Linked DNA regions of Homo sapiens: all the other regions are linked to region 2. Evidence: promoter capture Hi-C in 16 types of primary human blood cells and fetal thymus (Javierre and others, 2016). All regions are on one chromosome and are shown on one strand. The core of a region is centred on a gene start or on the middle of the fragment in contact, and the rest is flanking DNA. Distances in the headings are between cores, read along the strand shown. Region 1 holds the start of TRV-AAC1-5 (tRNA-Val (anticodon AAC) 1-5). Region 2 holds the start of H2BC6-AS1 (H2BC6 antisense RNA 1). Region 3 holds the start of OR2B2 (olfactory receptor family 2 subfamily B member 2). Region 4 holds the start of TRS-CGA3-1 (tRNA-Ser (anticodon CGA) 3-1). Region 5 has its middle 4.0 kb from the start of TRQ-TTG3-3. Region 6 has its middle 18 kb from the start of TRQ-CTG6-1. Region 7 overlaps LOC105375001 (a long non-coding RNA gene).

Region 1 (3,387 bases), core at 9-2,508, 1.6 Mb after region 2:
AGCGAAACTCTGTCTCAAAAAAAAAAAAAAAAAAAAGTGTTTCCTCTCTGTGCTTCAGCAAAAAAAGAGCAAATCCAATTCCCCGAAGGGCTCAAAGCGAAGCGCTCTTCCTTAGAAATCCCCGAGGAAACCCCCTCCACGAAAAACCCGCAAGTGCTGCTCTCTGGATTCCAAGAAAGCCTGTCTCACCTGCGAGGTGCAGGCGGGTGGAGTTCTGGGACTCCGGTGCCTATTGGGATTGACACCACCGGGGTCACTCAGACGGAGATCAGAAAAGGAGGATGAGGGTGAGGGTTCGGCGTGGGGTAGAGAAAGGTGTGACGCGGGATTCAGCGCCACGTCGCTGGGTGACGGAAGGAGTACAGAAGTTGAGGGTTCACGTGCTCGGCAAAAAGCAAAGATTCTATTGGTTCAAATGAAAATACTCAAAAACAGAATTAGCGATAGAAAAAAAAGCGACTCTCTTTGTTTCCGCCCGGTTTCGAACCGGGGACCTTTCGCGTGTTAGGCGAACGTGATAACCACTACACTACGGAAACCAACGGTTACAAAGCTTCTTCTTTTTGACCTAAAAGACTAGTCCTGAATTCTCCCCCTTTCCCTCCACCCCCACCTCCGATTTTTTTTTGATTATGGTGAATTACACACTTTCACATTTACTATTTATAATATAAAAACTCGATGTCCTAATTTAAGTTGAGGAACATTTGATAAATAATCGGTTTGTACTTTTTTGTATAATAAACTATATTTCCCAGTAGTTACTTATACAAAGAGGCATAGAATTAATTTGGGAAAGGTAATTTGTTAAGATTTATGCATCTATGAATCTATGAACTAATTTTTAAACCTATTTCTAGTATTTAGATGTTCTTCCCATTGTTTTATACTTTAAAAAATACTGATTAGTTTTCAAATTTATAGATATAAATGTTTTAATGTTATATAATGTTTATATAACATTATATATAATGTTATATAATGTTTATAAGATATAAACATTTTAATGTTTAGTTGTAACCAACTAGTAGCTTCAATGATAACTCAATTCGAAGGAATTCTATAAAAAGTAGAACATTATGCTTCCCATAACAAAAATAATAAATAACTGGCTAATGACTTCACCTGACTGTAGCGTAGTCTTTGGTGCTCTAATTAGAAGAGAAGCTCTTTTCTTTCTAGAAATACTTGCCGACCTCCTTGTGGAAAACCCTCCCTTTCCGCTGTCTGCATTCGGATGAGAACCAGATCACCAGGGAGATGCAGACCAGGGGGACACTTCCTCCTGTTAACACTAGCGGAGCTGGTGGAACCCAGCCGACCATGCAGGAGGGAGGAGCTGGCAACGCCCTGAACGGTGGGAGGGGAAAGCATGCGGGGTGTCAGCGTCTCTAGGGTTTGGATAAGCCGATTTCAAGTCCAGGACAGGAGAGAAAACAAAAGAGTTCTGTTCAAATAATAATAATAATAAATCTTACTGAGTTTCAAACCAAGGGTCTTTACTGTATTGGGCAAATGTGATAACCACAATACCAGTAAAACTTGCCTTTGGTCCCATGTCTCTTCTACAGGAAAAAAAAAATACAGTTTTTCCAGATGCCCCAGGTTCTATAATCTCAAAGCTGCCCTTTCTTCCCAGAAACTCTCACAGTGGTGGTACGTTTCTTGCCCTTGTACTTTTAGTGTACTAAAACCAACAGCCAAACTTTATCATTTTAGCAATCCAAGTATTCACCCATGAGCCCCAATTTCTTTGCAAATGCCAGGCAAGAAAACCTCAAGTAGATAGAGAAGTAGAGAGCAGATGATTTGATTTTTTTAAAAAAATTCTACCATAGTGTCCTTATCTTATCCATGCAACTTGTTCTGATCTTCATCTTTCTAGTGCCAGAAAATGACCCTTTTAGGAACCCGGACCTGTAAGACTGAGCTCTTGGGACTATTAGCATTTGTTACAGAGCAGGTAAGCTTCAGGATGAGATATACTGGGGAACAGGTACAAGGTTACAAGATTGGATTCTATGTCACAAATAATTATTTCTCTGGAATGTGACAGTTCAATGCTATTTGATTTAGAAAAGGAGGATAAAACGCTCGTGTATTTTTTTCTTTTCTTTGTTCTTCTCTCCCTTTTCACTGTCTTCCTCTATCTACTTTCACTGCACACCTAGAAGCAAGCTGCCTTCTTCCAGATTCCTCCTTATAACTTCACTTTGCATATAAACACCACACACTCTCTGTGCTTAGAGGTGGTGGTTGGGCTGCCAGACCAGTCTGGAGAAAGTCTGTGCTTACTTTTTCCTCTACTTAGTATTCTTTCTTCCATGGGTGCCAGGAACAGAGAGCCCCTTCTCACCTTGAGATCATGTGAGCTGGTAGTAGCTGGATCATGAATAATTGGAATGCTGTGGGTAACAACTGAAAGAAAGACTGTAATTCCCAATTAACAAATTAGACTGTATTTCCCAATTAACAAATCAAGACCAGATTAGCAGCAACAATGATCATTAAAAATATTGTTAAAGAAAAAAAGAAAGAAAAAAGATAAAAAATATTGTTAAACTGGACATAGTGGTGTACCTGTAGTTCTAGTTACTCTGGAGACGAAGTAAATCAGGAAGATCACTTGAGCCCAGGAGTTTGAGGTTGCATGTGCAATGATTGTGTCTGTGAAAAGCCACTGCCCTCCAGCCTGGGCAATATAGGGAGACTCCATCTCTAATTTAAAAAAAATTGTTGTAAACACATTTATTTCATATTAATTAAAATAAATTATTGGCTGGGCACAGTGGCTCATGCCTGTAATTCTAGCACTTTGGGAGGCTTAGGCGGGATGATCACTTGAGCCATGAGTTCGAGACAGCCTGGGCAACATTGCGAGATCCCCATTTCAAATTTTTTTAAAAAGAAAAATAAATTATTGAGCTACAAACAATGTGCCAGACAATTGTGACCCTATGTTGTCACTAGGAGTACCAGAGGCATGCAGGACAAGATTACACAATCCTAACTCTCAAGGAGAAGAAAGAGGAACATGAGCAGCCAATATGCCATAAGCAAAAAGTGGAGCAACAGACGTACAGATTGCGAAGCATTTGGATGGTAGTATAGAGAGGAGGCATCTTCTTAGTCCTTATGAACTGGCAGGGCAGATCTGGCAGGGATCTTTGGAGCCAAAATATCTGAGTACAATTCCTTCCTCTGCCACTTTCTCATCATATGTAGGGTTTCAGGCAAGCTATTTGGCTTCTTCATGACTCTGTCTGTGCTGGTAAAATGGATATGGATACAGTGTGTACCTCATAGAATTATCATAAACTCAATTAAGAAAAACTCCCTGAAGTGTTTCAGACAGTGCTCAACTTACAGAAGTAGTTACTGCTTTTA
Region 2 (3,214 bases), core at 231-2,730:
TGGCAGGACGTCTGAAAAAAAAAGTTATAATTAATAAAATCTGCGGAGAATTGTAAATTCTGCCTTCATTGTTGATCCAAACCTTTCTTCTAAGACCTCCCCTTTCTAGACATCTATCTACCTATTTTCACTTTACTTTCCAGCATCAAGGAGGTCTGAGTGGATAAGGCCTAAGCACTGATGTGGCTTTGGTAATGAACCTGAAGTTAAAAACTGGTTAGCTTATGCTAAGCTGCCATTTGAAAGGTCTCCTCCAGCATCTGAATTAAGGGAAACAATGTTTTGAAGCAGTCACAAAACTTTTCTGATGCATTAGATCTGAGGTAGGACCTGATAATTTGTACTTCTAAATTATGCAGGTGATGCTGATGCTGCTGGTCCGGAGACCACTTTGGAGAGTTTTACTTTAAAGGAAATGAAACTGCCCTAAAATGCTAATACTAAATAGCCACACAAAGCCGGAAAAAAGCAAAGAATTTCAAACCGAAGATGAGAGGTCCTGAAAAATAACAGCGGTCATCCTACTCCCGGTGCGGCTATGCGGCCATGAAAAGGAGTCTTGGGGCCGGTCGTGCCCCTCCACGCAGGCTCCCTCATAGGGTCATCCCATCAACCCTCGCCAAAAACGCCGGCCCCCTCATAGGGCCGTCCGGCCACGCCCCTCCGTGCCCTAACCACAGAGCCACACGTTACGCCGCCGCCCCGTTACGCCCATCCGGCTCCCGCATAGGGCGTCACGTACGTTTAACGTCGGCCCGGCGCGCGCGTCCGGGAGGTTGCCCGTAGGCCGCTAACTGGTGGTTCCCAGTCCCCGCCGACTCGGCCTCTTTCTTCTGCGGCCACCAGATCGCGGGATATCGGAGACTTCGAACAATCCGCTGGAGTCCTTTACAGTTTAAAAACAGAGGACCGGCCGGGCGCGGTGGCTCACGCCTGTAATCCCAGCACTTTGGGAGGCCGAGGCGGGCGGATCACGAGTTCAGGAGATAGAGACCATCCTGGCTAACACCGTGAGACCCCGTCCCTATCAAAAGTACAAAAAAATTAGCCGGGTGTGGTGGCACGCGCCTGTAGTCCCAGCTACTCAGGAGGCTGAGGCAGAAGAATCGCTAGAACCAGGGAGGCGGAGGTTGCAGTGACCGAGATCGCGCCGCTGCACTCCAGCCTAGGCGACAGAGCGAGACTGCGTCTCAAAACAAAAAAAACGGAGGATCGAAAATTTTGAAGACTGAGAGCAAGGCAACAATCTTCCCTTGACCTTTTTGCTCCTCTCACAAGGGTTTTTCAGACGGCTGAAACCAACGAAAAGAGTGAGGAAGCAGGCAGAAAATTTCAGCTTTAGTCTCTCAGCATCCTCCTGCTTTCTTCTCGGGGAGCTGGCACTTCCCCCTTCTCTAGTAGCTGTAAATACGCCTCCCAACTCCAAGGAGACCTTTCTTGCATCTCCCTTACTGTTCTCACGCCTGTAGGGCTCTTCGTGTGAGGATTCAGTGTATGTATGTATGTATATGAATGTGTGCGAATAATTATTTCCTAATTGAGTTTTTTTTTAAAAAAATCATCTTCCGGTACACGCAGTGCCGTACTCCATTAAACAGCAGGCACGGTGTCTAGGGTCCGCAGTTCTTTTGGAGGCTCATGAAAATATTTTAATTTCTTCTAAAGTCAGAAGGAAAAAAATGAACATTTAAGTCGAAGAAGATGTTACATATTAATCTTCATATGACTTTAATTTTTTTTTTTTTTTTTTTGAAACGGAGTCTCGCTCTGTCCCCCAGGCTGGAGTACAGTGGCGCAGTCTCGGCTCACTGCAAGCTCTGCCTCCCGGGTTCACGCCATTCTCCTGCCTCAGCTTCCCGAGTAGCTGGGACTACAGTCACCACGCCCGACTAAGTTTTTTTGTATTTTTTAGTAGAGACGGGGTTTCACCGTGTTAGCCAGGATGGTCTCGATCTCCTGACCTCGTGATCCGCCCGCCTCGGCCTCCCAAAGTGCTGGGATTACAGGCGTGAGCCACAACGCCTGGCCTATGCCCACTAATTCCAATTCTTATTTGATCTAATTGTTTATAGATTCTTGTGAACTTTTACCTTGACAATTATGTTATTTTCAAAGATAATCATCTTTTCCTATTGAATCCTTGCTCTTCTGACTGCCTGTTCCTATCTCATGGTATTGGCCAAACCCTGTGATGCCGTGTTGAATAGGAGTACTTTCTCACCACACTTGTCTTCCTTCCGCCTCTATGGGAATCCTTCCAAAACGGCACCATTAAGTGTTATACTCGCTGTAGCTCCTCCTTATGAAGTTCTCTTCTCATTGTAGTCTGTTAAGTGTTTATGATTAAAGAGTGTTATATTTTGTTAAATGCTTTCGCAGTATCTTTGGAGATGATCATGTTTTTTCTTTATTAATCTCTTTTTTATTTTATTTATTTTATTTTATTTTATTTTATTTTTTATTATTTTAGTTTTTATTTTGAGATGGAATCTCACTCTGTCTCCCAGGCTGGAGTGCAGTGCCCTGATCTAAGCTCATTACAACCTCTACCTCCCAGGTTCAAGCGATTCTTCTGCCTCACTTTCCCAAGTAACAGGGACTACAGGTGCGTGCCACCACATCTGGCTAAGTTTTGTATTATCAGAAGAAGATAGGCCGCCATTGGCCAGGCTGGCCTTGAACTCCTGACATTAAGTGATCCACCTGCCTCAGCCTCCTAAAGTGCTAGGAATACAGGCGTGAGCCACTGCTCTGGGCCTTCCTTTATTAATTTCTTAAACTGGCAGATTTAGAATACTAAACTTCCTTCTATTCTTAGAATAAACCCTATATAATCAGCTATTTATTTAAATAACATGGTCTCTGCAATTTCTCCTGGTTTCCATTTTTTCTCATAATAGGCATTTTTTTCTAAAAAACAAAAATGAATGTTCATTAGTGAGACAAAACTATAATTTTGTTTTTTTCTTCTTTCTCTCTTCCTTCCTTTTTAAAATTTGTATTCTCCAGTTTTGCTAATAATGTTATACAATTTTACAAGAAAAAAGTGAGTAGGAGAGCTGTTTTTCTATAGTAACAGATTCTGTGAAATAGGTATCATGCCAAGTGAGGTGGCACGTCCCTGTAGTCCCAGCTACTCAGGAGGTGAAGCAGAAGGACCACTTGAGCCCAGGAATTGGAGACTGTAGTGTGCTGCCATCATGCCTGTGTATAG
Region 3 (3,545 bases), core at 974-3,473, 1.7 Mb after region 2:
CCTCGGCCTCCCAAAGTGCTAGGATTACAGGCATAAGCCACCGCGCCCGGCCCCTATAAGTGCTTTCGAGGTTAAAAGGAGAGAGATAATATATACAGTAGAGGAATCATTTTAAAAGGTCAAAAGCAGGCATTCGATTTCAGTCTAAAATGTAGCTACAACTTTATTTGATAGATGGAATAGGACACTTCAACTTAGAAGTGGGAAGTACAGAAACAACAGAAGATCTAAGTAAAACTGGGGAGTGCAGAATTGTTGTGGATTTTAGTATTGTGTTGATGTGCGAATAGTGTTAAAATTTAAGCTAGGGCTGTTAAACTTATAGAGAAAATTAAGACAAGGTTTTGGATACTTCTGTTAGATCTACAATTGTCTGAAAAATAATTTGTGCCATGGAGTTTGTGTGTGTGTGTGTGTGTGTGTGTGTGTGTGTAAGGATGAGGACATGTGTATATGTATCAAAATGTTTTGTTTCTGGCTTTTATTCTGGTTTCAGAGAAGTCTAAGTCTCTTCCCGATGTATACAGACTAGTGCTAAGATGTTTGAGACCTTAAAGATTTCAAGGCTATGCTATTTTGAGAGTTCATAAAAGATCAGTTCTTAAGACTTGTGCAATGAATATATTTAGGCAGTAGAAAACAGATATAGTTCTCTGTCGACATTTTATTTGAAGATCACTATAATAGTTTTTCTAAGAATAGTAATAATAAAGCAATTTGGAGAGAATTAAATTATAAGCTATGTAAAATTGAAGTCTTTAAAAGGCCTATAATTTGAGAATTCCTTTTTTTTTTATTAACACCCTTGCAAGCAACCTCTCAAAAGCTCCCTTTACATCTTTGTTTCTATGTGTGTGTGTGTATGTATGTATGTGTGTGTGCGTGTGTGTATTACTGAAGAGATGATTTCTGGATCAGAAAGGTCTAGTTTACACTGAATTGTACAAACATTGATGTAAAGTGTGACAACCCTTGAAAATGTTGTGATTACAGTTTTTGGTGCATTGGAAGGCCAATTCTGGGGGCTTGTTCAATGAAAATGTTTAGGCAACAGAAACAAATATAGCTTTTTGTCAAGGAAATTTTCTTTGAGGGAGATTACAATAGTTTTCTATAGTAATGACAAAAATAGGACAACTTGCGGAGAAGTTAGTAAGGTAAGTAAGCACTGTGTCTTTAGCAAAGCTTATCATTTGCATATTTCTTATTTCTTGATTAAGAAGACTCTTTGCAACCAACCTTTTAAAGGCTTCCTTTACCTCTTTGTTCCTAAGTGTATATATAAGGGGATTCAGCATGGGTGCAATGATTCCACAGAAGAGAGAAACCATCTTTCCCCGGTCTTTGGAGCTGGGTGAAGGTGGTTGCAGGTACATGGAGATAGCTGTACCATAAAAAAGTGACACCACAATTAGATGGGAGCCACATGTCCCAAATGCCTTTCGTTGACCTTCAGCAGACTGGATTCTCAACACTGCTTGGACAATAAAAGCATACGATATAAGGATGAGTGTCACGGGTATTAGAAGGAATAGCACACTGATGAAGAATAGTTCAGCCTCATTTGCTGTTGTGTCAACACAGGACAACTTGAGCAGAGCAGGGACTTCACAGAAGAAGTGATCCACTTCTTTGTGACCACACAGTGGCATCTTAAGTGTCCAGGTGGACTGTAATACTGAATTGCTAAAGCCACTAATCCAGGATGCAGCTGCCAACTGGAAGCAGAGCCTCTGGTGCATGATAATTGAGTAATGGAGAGGCCGACAAATAGCTACAAACCTATCAAAGCACATGACGGCCAGGAGAAGACATTCTGTGGAACCCAAGGCCAGGAAAATGAAAAGCTGGGCCACACAGCCACCATAACTGATTACTTTCCTGGTGTTGCATATGTTTACCAGCATTTGTGGAACTGTACTTGTGGTATAGCAAAGGTCCAGGAGTGAGAGATTGCTAAGAAAAAAGTACATAGGGGTGTGGAGTTTGAAATCCACATGTGACACAAGAATTATTGTCAGATTGCCAAAGATTGTCAAGATATAGGAAAACAGAAACATCACAAAGGGTGGAATCTCTAGCCATGGTTGATCTGAGAAAACTAACAGAATGAACTCCTGTGGGACACTCTTATTTACCCAATTCATGTTAAATGGTTCAACTCTTCGTTCTCTGAAATATAAGAAGTCAGGAAGTTAACAACACACTTCCTGATTTTGTCAGCTATAATCATTTTGCTATCAATTTACATAAAATTACAGACTGATCCAATTAATAATGTGAAAAAAGTATTGATAAAAATATAAATATTTATCCATCCAAGTATTTAAAAAGTGTTTATATATCTGTAACAGCATATTAGCAAATTGAATCGAATTTCAAGAATCTTTTTTTTTTTTTTTTTTTTTTTTTTTGAGGCAGAGTTTCACTCTTTTGCCCAGGCTGGAGTGCAATGGCGCCATCTCGGCTCACCGCAACCTCCGCCTCCCAGGTTCAAGCAATTCTCCTGCCTCAGCCTCCCCAGTAGGTGGGATCACAGGCATGTGCCACCACCCCGACTAATTTTGTATTTTTAGTAGCGATGGGGTTTCTCCACGTTGGTCAGGTTGGTCTCAAACCCCAACCTCAGGTGATCTGCCCACCTCAGCCTCCCAAAGTGCTGGGATTACAGGCGTGAGCCACTGTGCCCAGCCTAATTTCAAAAATCTTAAGCCATATTTTCAGTTTCCAAATTCACATAATGTATCCTTTGATATTTTACTGTTTGTAAATGTATTTTTCTCATTCTTCCTACCTAGATATCTACTGTGAGGTAGATGTAGATACAGTTTCCTGTCATTTGAATTCATTCTAATTTCTCTTCAAGGCCAGCGAGATTCCCTGATTGTAGAAATCAGTTAACATTAGTTAAAGCCACCTCCCATTATTCCCCTTCCCTCAAAAAAGCCATGTAGACAGTATCTAGTAAGTTATCAGACACAATTTAAGGAGACATATCCTTTTCGTTCTAGAAGCTCATAGAATTTGTATAGATTCCTTAGTAATATGATATTTGAAGGTGACAGGCTGGTCTCATATCCCTACCCTCTCTAATTAGTTACATTCATTATATTGGAATGCTTCTAACCCTTTGATCTCCACAATTCTCATTTGTAAAATGAAGATGATACAGTGGTTCCCCCTTTATCCATGGGGGATACATTCCAAGACCACCAGTGGATAGAAACCTGAAACTGTGGGTAGTACCAAACCCTATATATACTATGTTTTTTAATACATACACAACTATAACGTTTAATTTATAAATTAGGCACAGTAAGAGATTAAGAACAATAATTAATAAAATGCAGCAAGTATAACAGCTCCAGACCCCCATTTATTGTAATACATGTTATGTGAATGTGGTGTCCCTCTCTTTTTTTCTCTTCAAAACACCTTATTCTAGTGTACTCACCCCTCTGTGTTCTGACGATCTGATAACCGAGATGGCTACTCAGTGACTAACAGGCAGGTGGATGCTTTAAATCAAGCTTGTCCAACCTGAG
Region 4 (3,496 bases), core at 168-2,667, 1.5 Mb after region 2:
AAAGATTGTTTCTTTATTTAGGTAGGGATTAAAACCCCAAACCACACTGATTCAAGGAAAGCATGTTTTCTTTTGTGGTTTGTTGGCATAATAGACATTCACATAAAGTGTCTTTATTGAAAATAATGACCATTTTTCATCTTTGAAACATTATATATGAGCTAAGATGAATGTCTTTCCTTCAAAGCAATATTGGTGTTTCTATCTTCTCTTTCATGTGTGTGCCTACTTTTTAGCTTTTTGTTACTTATTTTTCAGGCCAATCAGCTGCTTTTACCTGAATTTGATTTTTTTTTTTTTTTTTTTTTTTTTTGAGTCGGAGTTTCGCTCTTGTTGCCCAGGCTGGAGTGCAGCGGCGCGATCTCGGCTCACTGCAACCACCGCCTCCTGGGTTCAAGTGATTCTCATGCCTCAGCCTCCCAAGTAGCTGGGATTACAGGCATGTGCCTCCATGCACGGCTAATTTTGTATTTTTAGTAAAGACGGGGTTTCTCCGTGTTGGTCAGGCTGATCTCGAACTTCCTACTTCAGGTGACTCGCCCGCCTCGGCCTCCCGAAGTGCTGGGATTACAGGCGTGAGCCACCGTGTCTGGCCTGAATTTCATTTTTAATATACTTACATTGGGCACTAATGATGTATGTGGATCAGTAATGAGCAATATGTATTATTTTAAATTTAGATATTGCCAAAAGTAAAGTGCTTTGTAATACATTTCTGGAAGTATTAATCATAGTTTTTCCCTCTTCTCGTCCAAAAGGAAAAAACAAGTACCCACTCACTAGGGAGAAGTTTATTGTAAAATGGTATTACAACTCAAAGTAGCAGATGAAGACACTCAAATTTAACGAGGAGTCAAGAATTCGGGAAAGTACACATTTTTCAGAATCACATTTGACATAGAAACTTAGAAAAAGGAACTTTACTTGCATAGCTGTTCAAAGTAAGCAAAATAGTGGAAAATGAAGAAGTGCTTATAAGGAGACGAAGTTTCGTATGGGTTTAAGAAGGTGGTCAGAAGCCAAAATATATCCTCTTTGTGCCTCTGTTTCCTCGTTTATACAAAACGCTTTGAAGAGCAACTAATGCATATGACGGATTGTTATCATCCTAATTTTTTTGGCTCCCACCAGCTGTGAGATCAGGACAAATACAAAGTAAAGATTGCTGCCTGAGAATGCTTTAAGAAAGCTGTCATACTAGTAATCTAAAAGGGAAATTGTATTCCTAATATTTTCAACGTTGCACCTGTCTTGTATTTGCCATTATGATTAGATGTAAGACAACTAGTATCTTCTTTTTCTTTGAGACAGTCTCACTCTGTCTCCCAGGCTGGAGTGCAGTGGCGCGATCTCGGCTCACTGCAACCTTCGCCTCCCAGGTTCAAGCGATTCTTCTGCCTCAGGCTCCCAAGTAGCTGGGACTACAGGCGTGCGCCAGTAAGCCCGGCTAATTTTTCTGCATTTTTAGTAGAGACGGGGTTTCACCGTGTTGGTCAGGCTGGTCTCCAACCCCTGACCTCAAATGATCCGCCCGTTTCGGCCTCCCCAAGTGCGGGGATTGCAGAAGTGAGCCACCGCGCCCGGCCTTCAAATGTACATATTTCTTGATGTACATTTCCACAAGTGTGCGCGCGCTGTAAAAGCCACAGCGATAGCACTCACAACTTTCTATCCTAGTGAACTAATGAAAGCTAACTGATGAAAGTAGCAAATTGGAAATCTAACCAGAAAATGGCGACGCTGTGAGCAGGATTTGAACCTGCGCGGGGAACCCCCATTGGATTTCGAGTCCAACACCTTAACCACTCGGCCATCACAGCTCCGAGGACACTTTTTGTTTCAGAGGAAGTCGTGTTAGGCTCTTTGACTCTCTCGCTTTTTAATGTTCCCACGGCAGGTTAATGCTTCCGTGTTTGTATTTGTCACTTTTTATATATTTGTCTCTCTCTTTCAATAAGAAGTTCCTGGGAAACATAATAGTGTCTTAATCTTTACTTGTTATCTGACTCTCTATGCATCAGAAACTTATTTGGTGCTTAGTGGCTGCTTTTGTTGCTGGAACAAATCCCCGGAGACTCAGTTGTCTGTTCCCTATTCCTCCCTCCAGTTCATGAATTTTCTTCTCTCTTTACCCAGCACATGTTAGAGTCACGTTCTTGCTGCACTCTCAATTTCCCTGCCTCTCTCACTTTGTACTCCTTTGGCAAAGCCACAACCAGGGCAGCTAAACATGGCGGAAGAAAAACAATCAGTTGACAGACCTCACTTTAAATTCATGACAATGAATGTCAAGTAGGTGCTCAAGGCTACCAGGCAAATTGTACCATACGCGATTAGATTAGTCCACTCCCAATCCTCTTGTTCTAAGTCACTGTTTCAGCCGGATGCAGTGGTCCAAGCCTGTAATCCTAGCACTTTGGAGGCCGAGGCGGGGGGGGAGATCACCTGAGGTTAGGAGTTCGAGACCAGCCTGGCCAACATGGCGAAACCCCATCTCTACTAAAAAAAAAAAAAAAAAAAAGCCAGATGTGATGGCTCGCGCCTGTAATCCCAGCTACTCGGGAGGCTGAGGCAGGAGAATAACTTGAACCTGGGAGGCGGAGTTGCAGTGAGCTGAGATGGCGCCACTGCCCTCCAGCCTGGGTGACAGACAGTGAGACTCCGTCTCAAAAAAAAAAAAAATAAGTCACTATTTCATATCTCTCATGCCAATGCTCCAACACCTCCTCTCCCATCCTTGTGTTCAATTGATGACTTTACTTCCTACTTCACAATCAGAAGAGACCTTCCACGCACATCTATCACCACATTAATCCACCTACCAGCCTCTGAAGGACTGTCAGTGATCCTATAATGCCTTGACAAGGTCGCCGATTATCTCCACATGGCTAAAATCATTTCCCAGTCCTCACCTTACTTGGGATAGCTGCAGCTATTAATACATTCTCCTTCTTACAACACTTTCTTCAATTGACTTTAGGGTAACAATTTTCCTGGTTGTCTTCCACTTAGTAATAAGCATTTAAGATTCCTCCGTGTCTTTTCATGCTTTAATAACTCATTTATTTTTAGGGCTGAATAATATTCCATTGTCTGAGGTACCGTAGTATATTTATTCATTTACCTACTGAAAGACATATTGGTTACTTCCAACTTTTGGCAATTATGAATAAAGCTTCTATAAACATTTATGTGCAGGTTTTGTGTAGACATGTTTTCAGCTCCTTTGCATAGTTGCCAAGGGGTGTGATTGCTGGATCATATAATAAAAGTATGTCTAGTGTTGTAAGAAACCACCAAACTGTCTTCCAAAGTAGCTGTACCATTTTTCATTCCCACCAACAATGAATGAGAGTTTCTGTTGCTCCATAACCTCACCAGTGTAGGTGTGGTCAGTGTTCCAGATTTTGGCCATTCTAATAGGTGGGTAGTGAGTGGTATAATACAATTAAAACAATAATACATCTGTCTGTTTACATATAATGTGGAGCATCTT
Region 5 (3,221 bases), core at 228-2,727, 1.6 Mb after region 2:
CCAGAACATGCTAAGCAGAGCCTGCCTCTGGTACTTTGCACTCATAGTTCCTTCTGCCCCAAACAGCTTCCCCCAGGTAGCAATATACTCTCTCACCAGTTTATGCCAATGACAGTTCAATGAGACCTCATTTGTATGCCCTCCTTAAAAATGCAATCTCCAGCTCCCTATCCCCTTTCCTGCTGTATTTTTATCTAAACCACTTATCAAGGTGATGACATGTTATGGAATTTAATCCCACCTCAAAGTACCATAAGAACAGGAATTTTAGCAGGCTATTTTCAGCGTGTATTCTCAATGCTAATATATTGTCTCTCATATATTAAGTGCTCAATAAATGTTTTTTTGGTTAAGTAAGTTAATTTCCTTTAAGCTGGCTGATGGGGTCATATAGAGGTAAAATTACTGGCTCTGAGTGATTTTCCTCACTTATAAATATAATTTGCAGTAATTTCTATATTATTCTTTTCCTCTTAATGCATGGTGATAATTATTTCCCTGTTACATATGTCTTTTTTGTTTGTTTGTTTGTTTGTTTGAGACAGAGCCTCGCTCTGTTTCCCAGGCTGGAGTTCAGTGGCGCAGTCTTGGCTCACTGCAACCTCTGCCTCCCGGGTTCAAGTGATTCTCCTGCCTTAGCCTTCTGAGTAGCTGGGATTACAGGCATGTGCCACCATGCCCAGCTAATTTTTGTAATTTTAGTAGAGACGAGGTTTCACCATGTTGGCCAGGCTGGTCCTGAACTCCTGACCTCAAGTGATCTGCCCACCTCGGCCTCCCAAAGTACTGGGATTACGGGCATGAGCCACCATGCCTGTCCTACATATATCTTATTCATTGTCTTATTCAATCATACAACTTCCTGATAAAATGAGGCTGATTTTCACCCCTATTTTGCTGTTAAGGAAACTGGTATAATGAGTGTCACTGACTTGTTTGTGATCACACAGTGGACAAAATGGCATTTGTTTCTTTGTGGTGATCTCACAAAGGTCAAGATGACCTTAGATCCTCAGTTTTGGCTGTTTTTTTTTTGTTGTTTTTTTGTTTGTTTGTTTGTTTTACACCAAGGAACCAGGTTCTAGCTCCTATGTTTGTTCATTGCATGGAAAGGAACAGGAAGATCTGGGGGCCACTGAATGGAAGGTTAGATCCATTTTCTTGGTTAAGCTTGTAGGTTTTCTCGTCTCTTTTCCTTCCTGCAGCACAATTCTTATGAATGGCAATATCTTCTATTAAAATTCTCAGTCTGTAGTCTTCTTGTCCATACAGAAAATAGATTTCAGGTCAACACATTTGATAGTCTGGACTGTGCTAACTGCTCCAATATTTGAGTACATCTTTTGGGGATGTGGGAATTTAGTGTTGTAGGCCTCAAGTGGGGTTCGTTCCCAGAATTTGGAGAGGCTATAGAAATATAACCTGGTTGGCCAGGCACGGTGACTCATGCCTGTAACCCCATCAATGTGGGAGGCCGAGGCAGGTGGATCACCTGAGGTCAGGAGTTCGGGACCAGCCTGGCCAACATGGAGAAACCCTGTCTCTACTAAAAACTTTTAAAAAATTAGGCGGGCGTGGTGGTACGTGCCTGTAATCCCAGCTACTTGGGAGGCTGAAGTAGGAGAATCCCTTGAACCCGGGAGGTGGAGGTTGCAGTGAGCTGAGATCACACCATTGCACTCCAGGGCAACAGAGTGAGACTCCATCTCAAAAAAAAAAAAAAAAGAAAAAGAAATATAACCTGGCCATAATATAAGCATAAATAAAATAGATGACATTCTTTCAAAGCTTTTCTTAGCCTCTTATGTTTCTCAGATATTAAATAATCGGGCCAGGCACAGTGGCTCACGCCTGTAATCCTAGCACTTTGGGAGGCCGAGGCGGGCAGATTAACTGAGGTCAGGAGTTCAAGACCAGCCTGGCCAACATGGTGAAACTCCATCTCTACTAAAAACACAAAAAATTAGCCAGGTGCAGTGGCACGCGCCTGTAATCCCAGCTACTCGGGAGGCTGAGGCAGGAGAATCGCTTGAACCTGGGAGGTGGAGGTTGTGGTGAGCAGAGATCGTGCCACTGCACTCCAGCCTGGGCGACAGAACGAGACTTCATCTCAAATAAAAATTTAAAAAAAAAATAGTCAAATGCAAAATAAAGTAACATTCCAGCAATTTAATGACAGATATTGAAGCCACCTTTGCAAAATTATGACTGAGACAGAGAAAGAGATGGAATTTAACCAACTCCGTCTTGCTTCTAACCTCCAAGCCATCCTTGTTCATTCCTGGGTGTAGGCTGAACTAATTTAGGGAGAAACTTAGTTTGTAGTTTATAGTTTAAACAAAGATGGTAACAGCCCTTTCCCAAAGCAGACCTCCTTCTTGCCTTGGGACTGGATTGCCTTTGTAGGACTAACATTAGCCACAAGATTAAAAATTATGGCAGCTGGAGGCTACAAGATTCTAACCCTCCCTAACTGCTCCTAAGATCAGTGCTTGAGATATTTTGCAGACGCTGCACTCAAGATGGGTCAGATAGCACCACCCAGATCTATTAACTGGCTCATCTGATCCTGTAGCCCCCACCCAGGAACTGACTCAGCACAAGAAGAGAGCTTCAACTCCCTATGATTTAATCTCTGACCATTCAGCACTCCTGGCTCACTGGCTTCCCCCCATCCACCAAGTTATCCTTAAAAACTCTGCTCCCCAAATGCCCAGGGAAACTGATTTGAGTAATAAAACTCCAGTCTCCTGCACAGCCAGCTCTGTGTGAATTACTCTTTCTCTATTGCAATTCCCCTGTCTTGATGAATCAGCTCTGTCTAGGCAGCGGGCAAGGTTAACCCCTTGGGTGGTTACAATATGTACATGGGAAAGTGGTTGGCCTGCTTGGAATTGGAACAAAGGCAAACTAAGCATGATGATTATCAATGAGTTGCAGCCCAAAACCAACCAAGGAAGGACTATTAGTTCATGCTAGATTGCCTGTGTGGCTGTTTAAGACAGGATTCCACCAACAGTAAGAGAGACAAGTTTTAATCCCATTCAAAATTATGAAACTATTCCTTAGTAACCAGGCTGTTTCATTTACTTTGATTTGTTACTTACTAAAGCAATTTCTGATTAACAATTTGTGGTCAGTTCTAAGTCCAGGCACATCTTCCACTATAATTAACACAATGAGTTCTAGCTTTACTATTTTCTTATAAGTTTTGTTATTGT
Region 6 (3,726 bases), core at 1,218-3,717, 1.6 Mb after region 2:
AGGGCTTTGGTTCTTTTCTCTGGAGGTGGATGACCTGACGGTACACAACTTAGGCTGCTGCACTGGTGTTTATTATGGTCATTCACTATGAAGGAACAGTGGGAGGCGTGCATATCTTTCAGAACTGCACATTGATTCCTGGAGAGGGATCTTGGGTTGTGGGACTTTCAGCTACATGATTAGGGAAACACAAGCCACAGTGTAATGGGGCATGGAAAAAGGCATATTATGCTAACATTAGTCAAAAGAAAGCTTGGAGTAATTTTAATTTCAGACAATGTAGACTTCAGAGCAAGGAAAATTACCAGGAATAAAGAGTGGCATTATATAATAATAAAAGGGTCAATTCTTCAGGAAGATATAACAATCCTTAAAGTGTATACGTTTGTGATGGGCTAAACTGTGTGTACCCCTGCCCTGCCCCCCATAAATTCGTATGTTGAAGTTCTAACCCCCAATATATCAGAATGTGAACATGTTTGGTGACAGAGTCTTTATAGGGGTGATTAAATTAAAATGAGGTCATTAGAGTAGGCTCCTTCCTCCGTCTCCCCCCTCCCATCCTTTTGGATTGGGGTCTCACCGTTTTGACCTCATTCAACCTTAATTACCTCCTTAAATGCCCTATCTCCAAATACAGTCACGTTGAGATTAGGGGTTTGGCACAGGAATTTTGATGGACACAGTTCAGTCCACAACAACCCCCATCCCTAAATTTACTTAGCTTTAAAACAGATACAACCGGCAAGACAACACAACATGAAGTGATTAGCTGACAATGTGGTGCAGCCTCTGGATGCTTAAGGTGATGAAAATATAATTAAGCCTGTCTGCATAGGTTCGAACCTGCCGGCTACAATCCTGTCCCACGTATTGACAGTTGTGAATCTCCCGCGGTGCATTTTCAGACGAGATCGGGCGCGTTCAGAGTGGTATGACCATAGACCCGCAGTGCATTTTCAGCCTCCCTCCTGGCCTATACCCGTCATGCAGACACTAACCAATCCTTAACCAACCTCATCCTGGCCTCTTGATTTGTAGAGTCTTCGCTGAGGGGAGGAGGGCCTTACTCGTGATGTGTAAGAAGAGCAGCAACCAAAGGCTAACGTGAGAGTCACTTTTCAAAGCACCTTTTCAGCAAACAAGAATCAGCTGTCGAGTTACCAGCTCCTGTGGCTCCTTCCCCGCAGTCTCCACCAGGCGGCGCGCCCCAGGAAGCCGGACGCCTGCTACCGCGGGCCGCGTTTCTTTGTGCAAACTCAGCAAGGCCTGGCAGCCTTGGAGAGCAGGCCTTTAGCAAGCCGCGGAAACGCAACTGGGTGCCAGGGTTACTCGTTGCATTTGTGGTGGGCAGAGCTTCCTCCAAGCAGTCAGAGGAAAGCTCTCTGAAGGTGTGTAATTTCGTTTGGTAATTAGCATATAATTAGGTCTTGGGTAGGGCATGGGTCAAATCCAGCGCCACGTTGGACTCAGACGGTTTCAGACAGCTTAGCCCTCATCCTGTTTATTAGGGTCTTATCAGCCCAAGCTCTTCCTTGTCCTTGTAGCTAATTTTAACAGCTCCTTTAGGAGCTGTTAGGAGCTTAGGAAAGCTCTCCGACTGCTTGGAGGAAAGCTCTGCCCATGAGACTGCTCGGAGGAAAGCTCTGTCCACCACTACAGCGCTAAGGATATCGCCCAAGCTCTTTGCTAAATGTCTCTTGGGAAAAAGCTCCTCATGAAGCAGGTAAGACTGATTTGTAGTTTAATGACCTGCAGGTCCCCACATGAACACGAGGAAAGGGACGTGCAAGGCAGTGTTGAAGAAACATCAGCAGGTCTATTTGAGGTTCTCACCAGGTATCTTTCCTGATGGTGGGATGGGAACTTGGGGCCCTGTTGTAATTCCAGATCTGGGAAACTGCTGATTTCTCCTTCCCCCCAACTCTCCATTCCATCTCCTTACCACTCTCGTTATGATAATTGTCCCATGGTGCATTAATTCTTTTCCAGCCTTGTCGTTCAAACACTTATGTTTCCTGTAAGTACCATTAACAGCTTCTCTTGAACTGGTTTCTCTAAAAATTCCTCCTTTACCTTTCTTCTAAAGTGTCGGATCCTTTACCTTTCAAAAACGAGGAATAGGTCTCGTGGCTCATGCCTAGCGAGACCTCATCTCCACAAAAAATAATAATAAAAAAATTAGCCAGGTGTGGTGGTGTGGGCCTGTAGTCCTAGTTACTGGGGAGGCTGAGGTAGGAGGATCACTTAAGCCCAGGAGGTCAAGGTTATAGTGAGTTATGATCGTGCCACTGCACTGCAGCCTAGGTGACAGAGCAAGACCCTGTTCCCCACCCTCTGCAAAAACAAACAAACAAAAAAGCATCCTGATAAACATAGACATGAAATTGAAACATACAGGTGAAGGGTCACAGATTTATGCCTCAGTCTTCTCATCTGTAAGACAAAGACAGCCTCATCACTTTTAATGAGGTGAGCGAATGAGGGAGGAGACCACCCCTCATATTGTCTTATGCCCGATTTCTGCCTCCAAAGAAAGAAGAAGTAAAAACTAAAAAGCAGAAATGAAATCCACAGGCAGACAGCCCGGCGCCACGCCCTGGGCCTGGTAGTTAAAGATTAACCCCTGACCTAACACTGGTTATGTTATCTATAGTTTCCAGACATTGTATGGAAAAGCATTGTAAAAATCCCTGTCCTGTTCTGTTCCGTTCTGATTACTGGTGCATGCAGCCCCCAAACATGCACCCCCTGCTTGCTCAGTTGATCACGACCCTCTCATGTGGACCCCCTTAGAGTTGTGAGCCCTTAAAAGGGACAGGAATTGCTCACTCAGGGAGCTCGGTTCTTGAGACAGAAGTCTTGCCGATGCTCCAGGCCAAATAAACCCCTTCCTTCTTTAACTCGGTGTCTGAGGGGTTTTGTCTGCGGCTCTTCCTGCTGCACATTAAGTGAGGTACACCACTGCATATTACATGGCAGGTGCTCAGTCTCCTCCTTCCACTTCCTCACTGGTTTTCTAGTGAAGAGAGAATGAAGGGGTGGGTTGCCCCTCCACACCTGTGGGTGTTTCTCGTAAGGTGGAACGAGAGACTTGGAAAAGAAAAAGACACAGAGACAAAGTATAGAGAAAGAAATAAGGGGACCCGGGGGACCAGCGTTCAGCATATGGAGGATCCCACCAGCCTCTGAGTTCCCTTAGTATTTATTGATCATTCGTGGGTGTTTCTCCGAGAGGGGGATGTGTCAGGGTCACAAGACAATTGTGGGGAGAGGGTCAGCAGACAAACACGTGAACAAAGGTCTTTGCATCATAGACAAGGTAAAGGATTAAGTGCTGTGCTTTTAGATATGCATACACATAAACATCTCAATGCTTTACAAAGCAGTATTGCTGCCCGCATGTCCCACCTCCAGCCCTAACGCGGTTTTTCCCTATCTCAGTAGATGGAACGTACAATCGGGTTTTATACCGAGACATTCCATTGCCCAGGGACGGACAGGAGACAGATGCCTTGCTCTTGTCTCAACTGCAAGAGGCATGCCTTCCTCTTATACTAATCCTCCTCAGCACAGACCCTTTACAGGTGTCGGGCTGGGGGACGGTCAGGTCTTTCCCTTCCCAAGAGGCCATATTTCAGACTATCACATGGGGAGAAACCTTGGACAATACCTGGCTTTCCTAGGCAGAGGTCCCTGCGGCCTTCTGCAGTGTTTGTGTCCCTG
Region 7 (3,588 bases), core at 283-2,782, 1.3 Mb after region 2:
TAAGACATGGCACTTGCATTTTATTATGCTGGCGTGCATCCCCAGCATTTGGATAAGGGGCCAAGGTCAAGTCTCTCAGACTGTTGGCTGACAAACATTAAACCTGGAAATCCTAACAGAGTGTATGAAAAACAATTACAGTCAAGGGAACATGATAGAGAAAGCTTCGGTCATCTTAGAGAATGCATATATTGCCATGAAGAGAACATTGGTTTAAAAAAAAATGTTCAAGAGAATGAAAAGACAAGTCACAGACTGGGAGAAAATACTTGCAAAGTACATATCTGATAAAGAACTGATATCCAAAATATATAAGAACTCTTAAAACTCAACAATAAGGAGACAAACCGATTAAAAAAATAGGCCAAAGACCCTAACAGATGTCACCAAAGAAGATATGCAGATGGAAAATAAGCATATGAAAAGATGCTCCACATATGTCCTCAGTGAAATGCAAATTAAAACAATGGGATGCCACTATACACCTGTCAAAATGGCCAAAATCCAGAACCCTGACAATACCAAATGCTGACAAGGATGTGGAGCACAGGAACTTTCATTCATTGCTGGTGGGAATGCAAAATATTAGAGTTACGTTGGAGGACAGTTTGACAATTTCTTACAAAACTAAACATACTCTTACCATATGATCTAGTAATTGTGTTCCTTGGTATTTATGCAAAGGAGTTGAAAATGTATGTCCACACAAAACGTGCCCAAGAATGTTTATAGCAGCTTTGTTCATGATAGGCAAAACTTGGAAGCAGCCAGATGTCCTTCAGTACATGAATGAATACATAAACTATGGTACATTCAGACAATGGAACATTCAGTAAGGAAAAGAAATGAGCTATCAAGCTACCAAAAAGGAAGAACAGAAGAATATTAAGTGCGTATTGGTGAGTGAAAGAAGTCAATCTGGAAAAGGCTATATACTGTATAATTCCATCTACATAACATTCCTGAAAAGGCTAATCTATGGAAACAGCAAAGATTGGTGGTTGCCAGGGGCTTAGGGGGAGGGAAAAAGGGAAGAATAAGTGACATTCAGTGGATTTTAAGAGGGAAGAATAAGTGACGTTCAGTGGATTTTAAGAGGGAAGAATAAGTGACGTTCAGTGGATTTTTAAGGCAGTGAAACTATTCTGTATGATATTGTAATGGCGAATACATGTTGTTATACATTTGTTAAAACCCATAGAATATACAGCACAAAGAGTGAACCGTAATATAAACTATGGTCTTTAGTTAATAATAATTTATCAACATTGGCTCATCAATTTTAACAGATGTACCACACTAGTGCAAGATGTTAATAATAGAGAAACTGGGGGAGGAGGGGAGAAGGAAGGAGTATACTGAAACTCTACTTTCTGCTCAATTTTTCTATAAACCTAAAACTGTTCCCAAAATGTTCTATTAAATTTAAAATATAAGAATGTTAAATATGCTTATGGTAAGGTCTCAGAAGGAAATTAATGACATGCAATTAGAAACTGAAGGAATGGTTATCTTGTTATAAAGTGGGAGAGCCTTGGCTGAATTGTATTCTATATTTGGGTGGAAAACAGAATTTGTACATGATGAACTTGAATATTTAGTTAAGAAGACTTCCAAGTAAAATGTGGAATGTGCAACCTGGTTAGTTATTGCTGCTTATGGTGAAATGCATGAGGAAAGAAATAAACTGAGGAAGGAACTATTCAGCACAAAGGAACCAGCACTCATGATTTGGAAAACTTTTAGCCATACCTTATACAAATGAGGCTTTCAATACATGTTGAGGACACAGAAAGATATAATTTTTGTCTTCAGTGACTTCTCTATATGTTGCACAAAGTGGCCTCCAACTCCTGACCTCAAGCAATCCTCCCACCTCGGCCTTCCTAAATGCTGGGGTTACAGTCCATAAGCCACTGAACCCAGCCCTCAGAAACCTTTTGTGCTTAAAAAAACACCTCAGCAAAATACAAAGCAACTAGTGATATATTTGAACTGAAATTACTAATCAACTTTGGCTTGTTTTACTGTAACAATGACTAGGGACTGGCCACAGCTGCAATCTTACTTGTTTTACTGGGCTGAAAACAAAAACATAGTAGAATGGATCTCAGTAAAGGTAGAGAGTCAGGACTTAGTTGCAGGAAACAAAAACCAGTCCAGTTTCTACTTTAGCCCTAAATTGGAAACAAATCAAATGTCCTTCTATACTTAAAAAGGCAAATTGTCAGTTTTTCTTCAAATACAAGGAATACAAAGAAAATACATTTTTTTTCTACAAAGAAAAAAAAGTTAGCTAGGAGTGGTGGTGCATGCTTCTATTCCTAGCTACTCTGGAGGCTGAGGCAGAAGGATGGCTTGTGCCCAAGAGTTCAGGTTACAGTAAGCTATGATGGTGCCACTGCACTCCAGTCTGTGTGATAGAGTAAGACCCTGATTCTAAAATTTTTTTAAATTTCTTAAAAGAGATTTGATATTTCTTTGGTATCTAACTTTATTCAAAGCTGGAGTTGCAAATGATTTCAGCAAAAAAAAATAAAGATGTGCTTGATAAAAATATGTCCACCAAATAAAAAGGATGTGATATGCATTAACTATGAACAACAATCTATAGCACAACTTATATTTGTATGGACACCTGGCTACCCCATCAAACTGCTTCATGTCTATTCCCTCAAATTATGGTCTTCCATAAAACTAGTGAATTTCTTTTAGTCTTCTTTTGAGCCTGTAGGGGTGAGAGAATCTTTTTTCTCCCTTCTGGAGGTTGGATATTTGAGTCTGAGAAATAAAGCTGCTAGTAGACAGATTAACAGAAGAAAAGGCATACACATTTATTATGCACATATGCACAGAGGTCCCAGAAAGTGTAAGTGAGACTCAAAGAAGGGGCAGATGGTTGAAGCTTAAATAGGACTTGGAGCTACATAAAGAAATAGGAGCTTGAAGGCTCCTGGAAGGTGGTGGCGAGAAGCAATGTGAGGGTCAGGGCAGGAACAGCTCTGGGAACAAAGCTTGTCTTATTATACAGATAAAGTCTCTCAAGTAGCAGCCCTCAGAATAGGTGGTGAAGAAAAGAATTGAAGTCTGGCTGGGCGAGATGTCCCGGGCATGGAGACCTTTAGTTTTCTCTCCTGGGATCTGAGTTAATCTTCTCTGGTTAATACAGATTCCAGGAGAGGGTTCATGACAATCTCTTTCCTTCTGGAGGAACCTCCGTAAGTCAAATAAGGGAAACTTCAGTGAAAGCCCCTCCCTGCCATTCAAGAAAGAAAGAGGATCAGGAGGCAGTGGGGCTGCGGAAGGTCAGAGAGACTTTGATTCTGAGGTTGCTTCTTTAGTTCAAAGTACTCAGCACTTCCAAGAGCCATACTTTGGGGTATCATTTTCTGAGCTCTAACAAGGGTCCTCAGAAAATCTCTGTCTCTTCCCTTCCCGGTCTTCCTTCGTTTCTCCTCTTCCTCTTCCTCCTCTTCTTTCTCCTTCATCCTCTTCTTTCTACCTCCTGTCCCTCCTTCCTTTCTCTCTTCTCCTTTCTGGTCACTTTCTTCTTTTCCTCTTCCTTCTTGTCCCTCTTCCTCATTTATC

What was found. Contacts are between HindIII fragments. The CHiCAGO score rates a contact against its expected background, and 5 or more counts as called.
Region 1: a contact is called between a fragment that was not itself captured here and the fragment with the promoter of H2BC6-AS1 in region 2, in 8 of 17 cell types (monocytes, total CD4 T cells, activated CD4 T cells and 5 more). The highest score is 13.0, in monocytes.
Region 3: a contact is called between the fragment with the promoter of OR2B2 here and the fragment with the promoter of H2BC6-AS1 in region 2, in 1 of 17 cell types (neutrophils). The highest score is 7.3, in neutrophils.
Region 4: a fragment that was not itself captured here is called in contact with the fragment with the promoter of H2BC6-AS1 in region 2 in 1 of 17 cell types (neutrophils); the score reaches 5.0 in neutrophils.
Region 5: a fragment that was not itself captured here is called in contact with the fragment with the promoter of H2BC6-AS1 in region 2 in 3 of 17 cell types (naive B cells, activated CD4 T cells and fetal thymus); the score reaches 7.3 in naive B cells.
Region 6: a contact is called between a fragment that was not itself captured here and the fragment with the promoter of H2BC6-AS1 in region 2, in 2 of 17 cell types (M2 macrophages and M0 macrophages). The highest score is 9.2, in M2 macrophages.
Region 7: a fragment that was not itself captured here is called in contact with the fragment with the promoter of H2BC6-AS1 in region 2 in 1 of 17 cell types (naive CD8 T cells); the score reaches 6.2 in naive CD8 T cells.

The regions. Positions count from the first base shown.
Region 1 is chr6:27,752,934-27,756,320 of GRCh38, forward strand. TRV-AAC1-5 (tRNA-Val (anticodon AAC) 1-5) reads right to left here and starts at 539; the gene lies at 467-539. RefSeq lists an enhancer at 1-52 and a silencer at 503-642. The HindIII fragment of the contact is 1,415 bases long and covers 552-1,966 here.
Region 2 is chr6:26,171,293-26,174,506 of GRCh38, forward strand. H2BC6-AS1 (H2BC6 antisense RNA 1) reads right to left here and starts at 1,481. Exons shown (of 3, transcript NR_186648.1): 1 at 743-1,481. It also overlaps a transcript of H2BC5 not described here. RefSeq lists an enhancer at 555-1,447. The HindIII fragment of the contact is 22,011 bases long and covers 1-3,214 here.
Region 3 is chr6:27,910,173-27,913,717 of GRCh38, forward strand. OR2B2 (olfactory receptor family 2 subfamily B member 2) reads right to left here and starts at 2,224. Exons shown (of 1, transcript NM_033057.2): 1 at 1,013-2,224. The coding sequence starts at 2,147. The coding sequence ends at 1,074. The HindIII fragment of the contact is 2,345 bases long and covers 1,184-3,528 here.
Region 4 is chr6:27,670,712-27,674,207 of GRCh38, forward strand. TRS-CGA3-1 (tRNA-Ser (anticodon CGA) 3-1) reads right to left here and starts at 1,820; the gene lies at 1,739-1,820. The HindIII fragment of the contact is 3,512 bases long and covers 1-3,173 here.
Region 5 is chr6:27,798,353-27,801,573 of GRCh38, forward strand. No RefSeq gene overlaps it. Among named protein-coding and RNA genes, the nearest start is that of TRQ-TTG3-3, 4.0 kb to the left of the region's middle. The HindIII fragment of the contact is 618 bases long and covers 1,169-1,786 here.
Region 6 is chr6:27,771,426-27,775,151 of GRCh38, forward strand. No RefSeq gene overlaps it. Among named protein-coding and RNA genes, the nearest start is that of TRQ-CTG6-1, 18 kb to the right of the region's middle. RefSeq lists an enhancer at 1-233. The HindIII fragment of the contact is 4,434 bases long and covers 251-3,726 here.
Region 7 is chr6:27,474,344-27,477,931 of GRCh38, forward strand. It overlaps LOC105375001 (a long non-coding RNA gene), which reads left to right. Exons shown (of 2, transcript XR_926664.4): 2 at 751-1,637. Among named protein-coding and RNA genes, the nearest start is that of TRS-AGA2-2, 2.7 kb to the right of the region's middle. The HindIII fragment of the contact is 2,741 bases long and covers 163-2,903 here.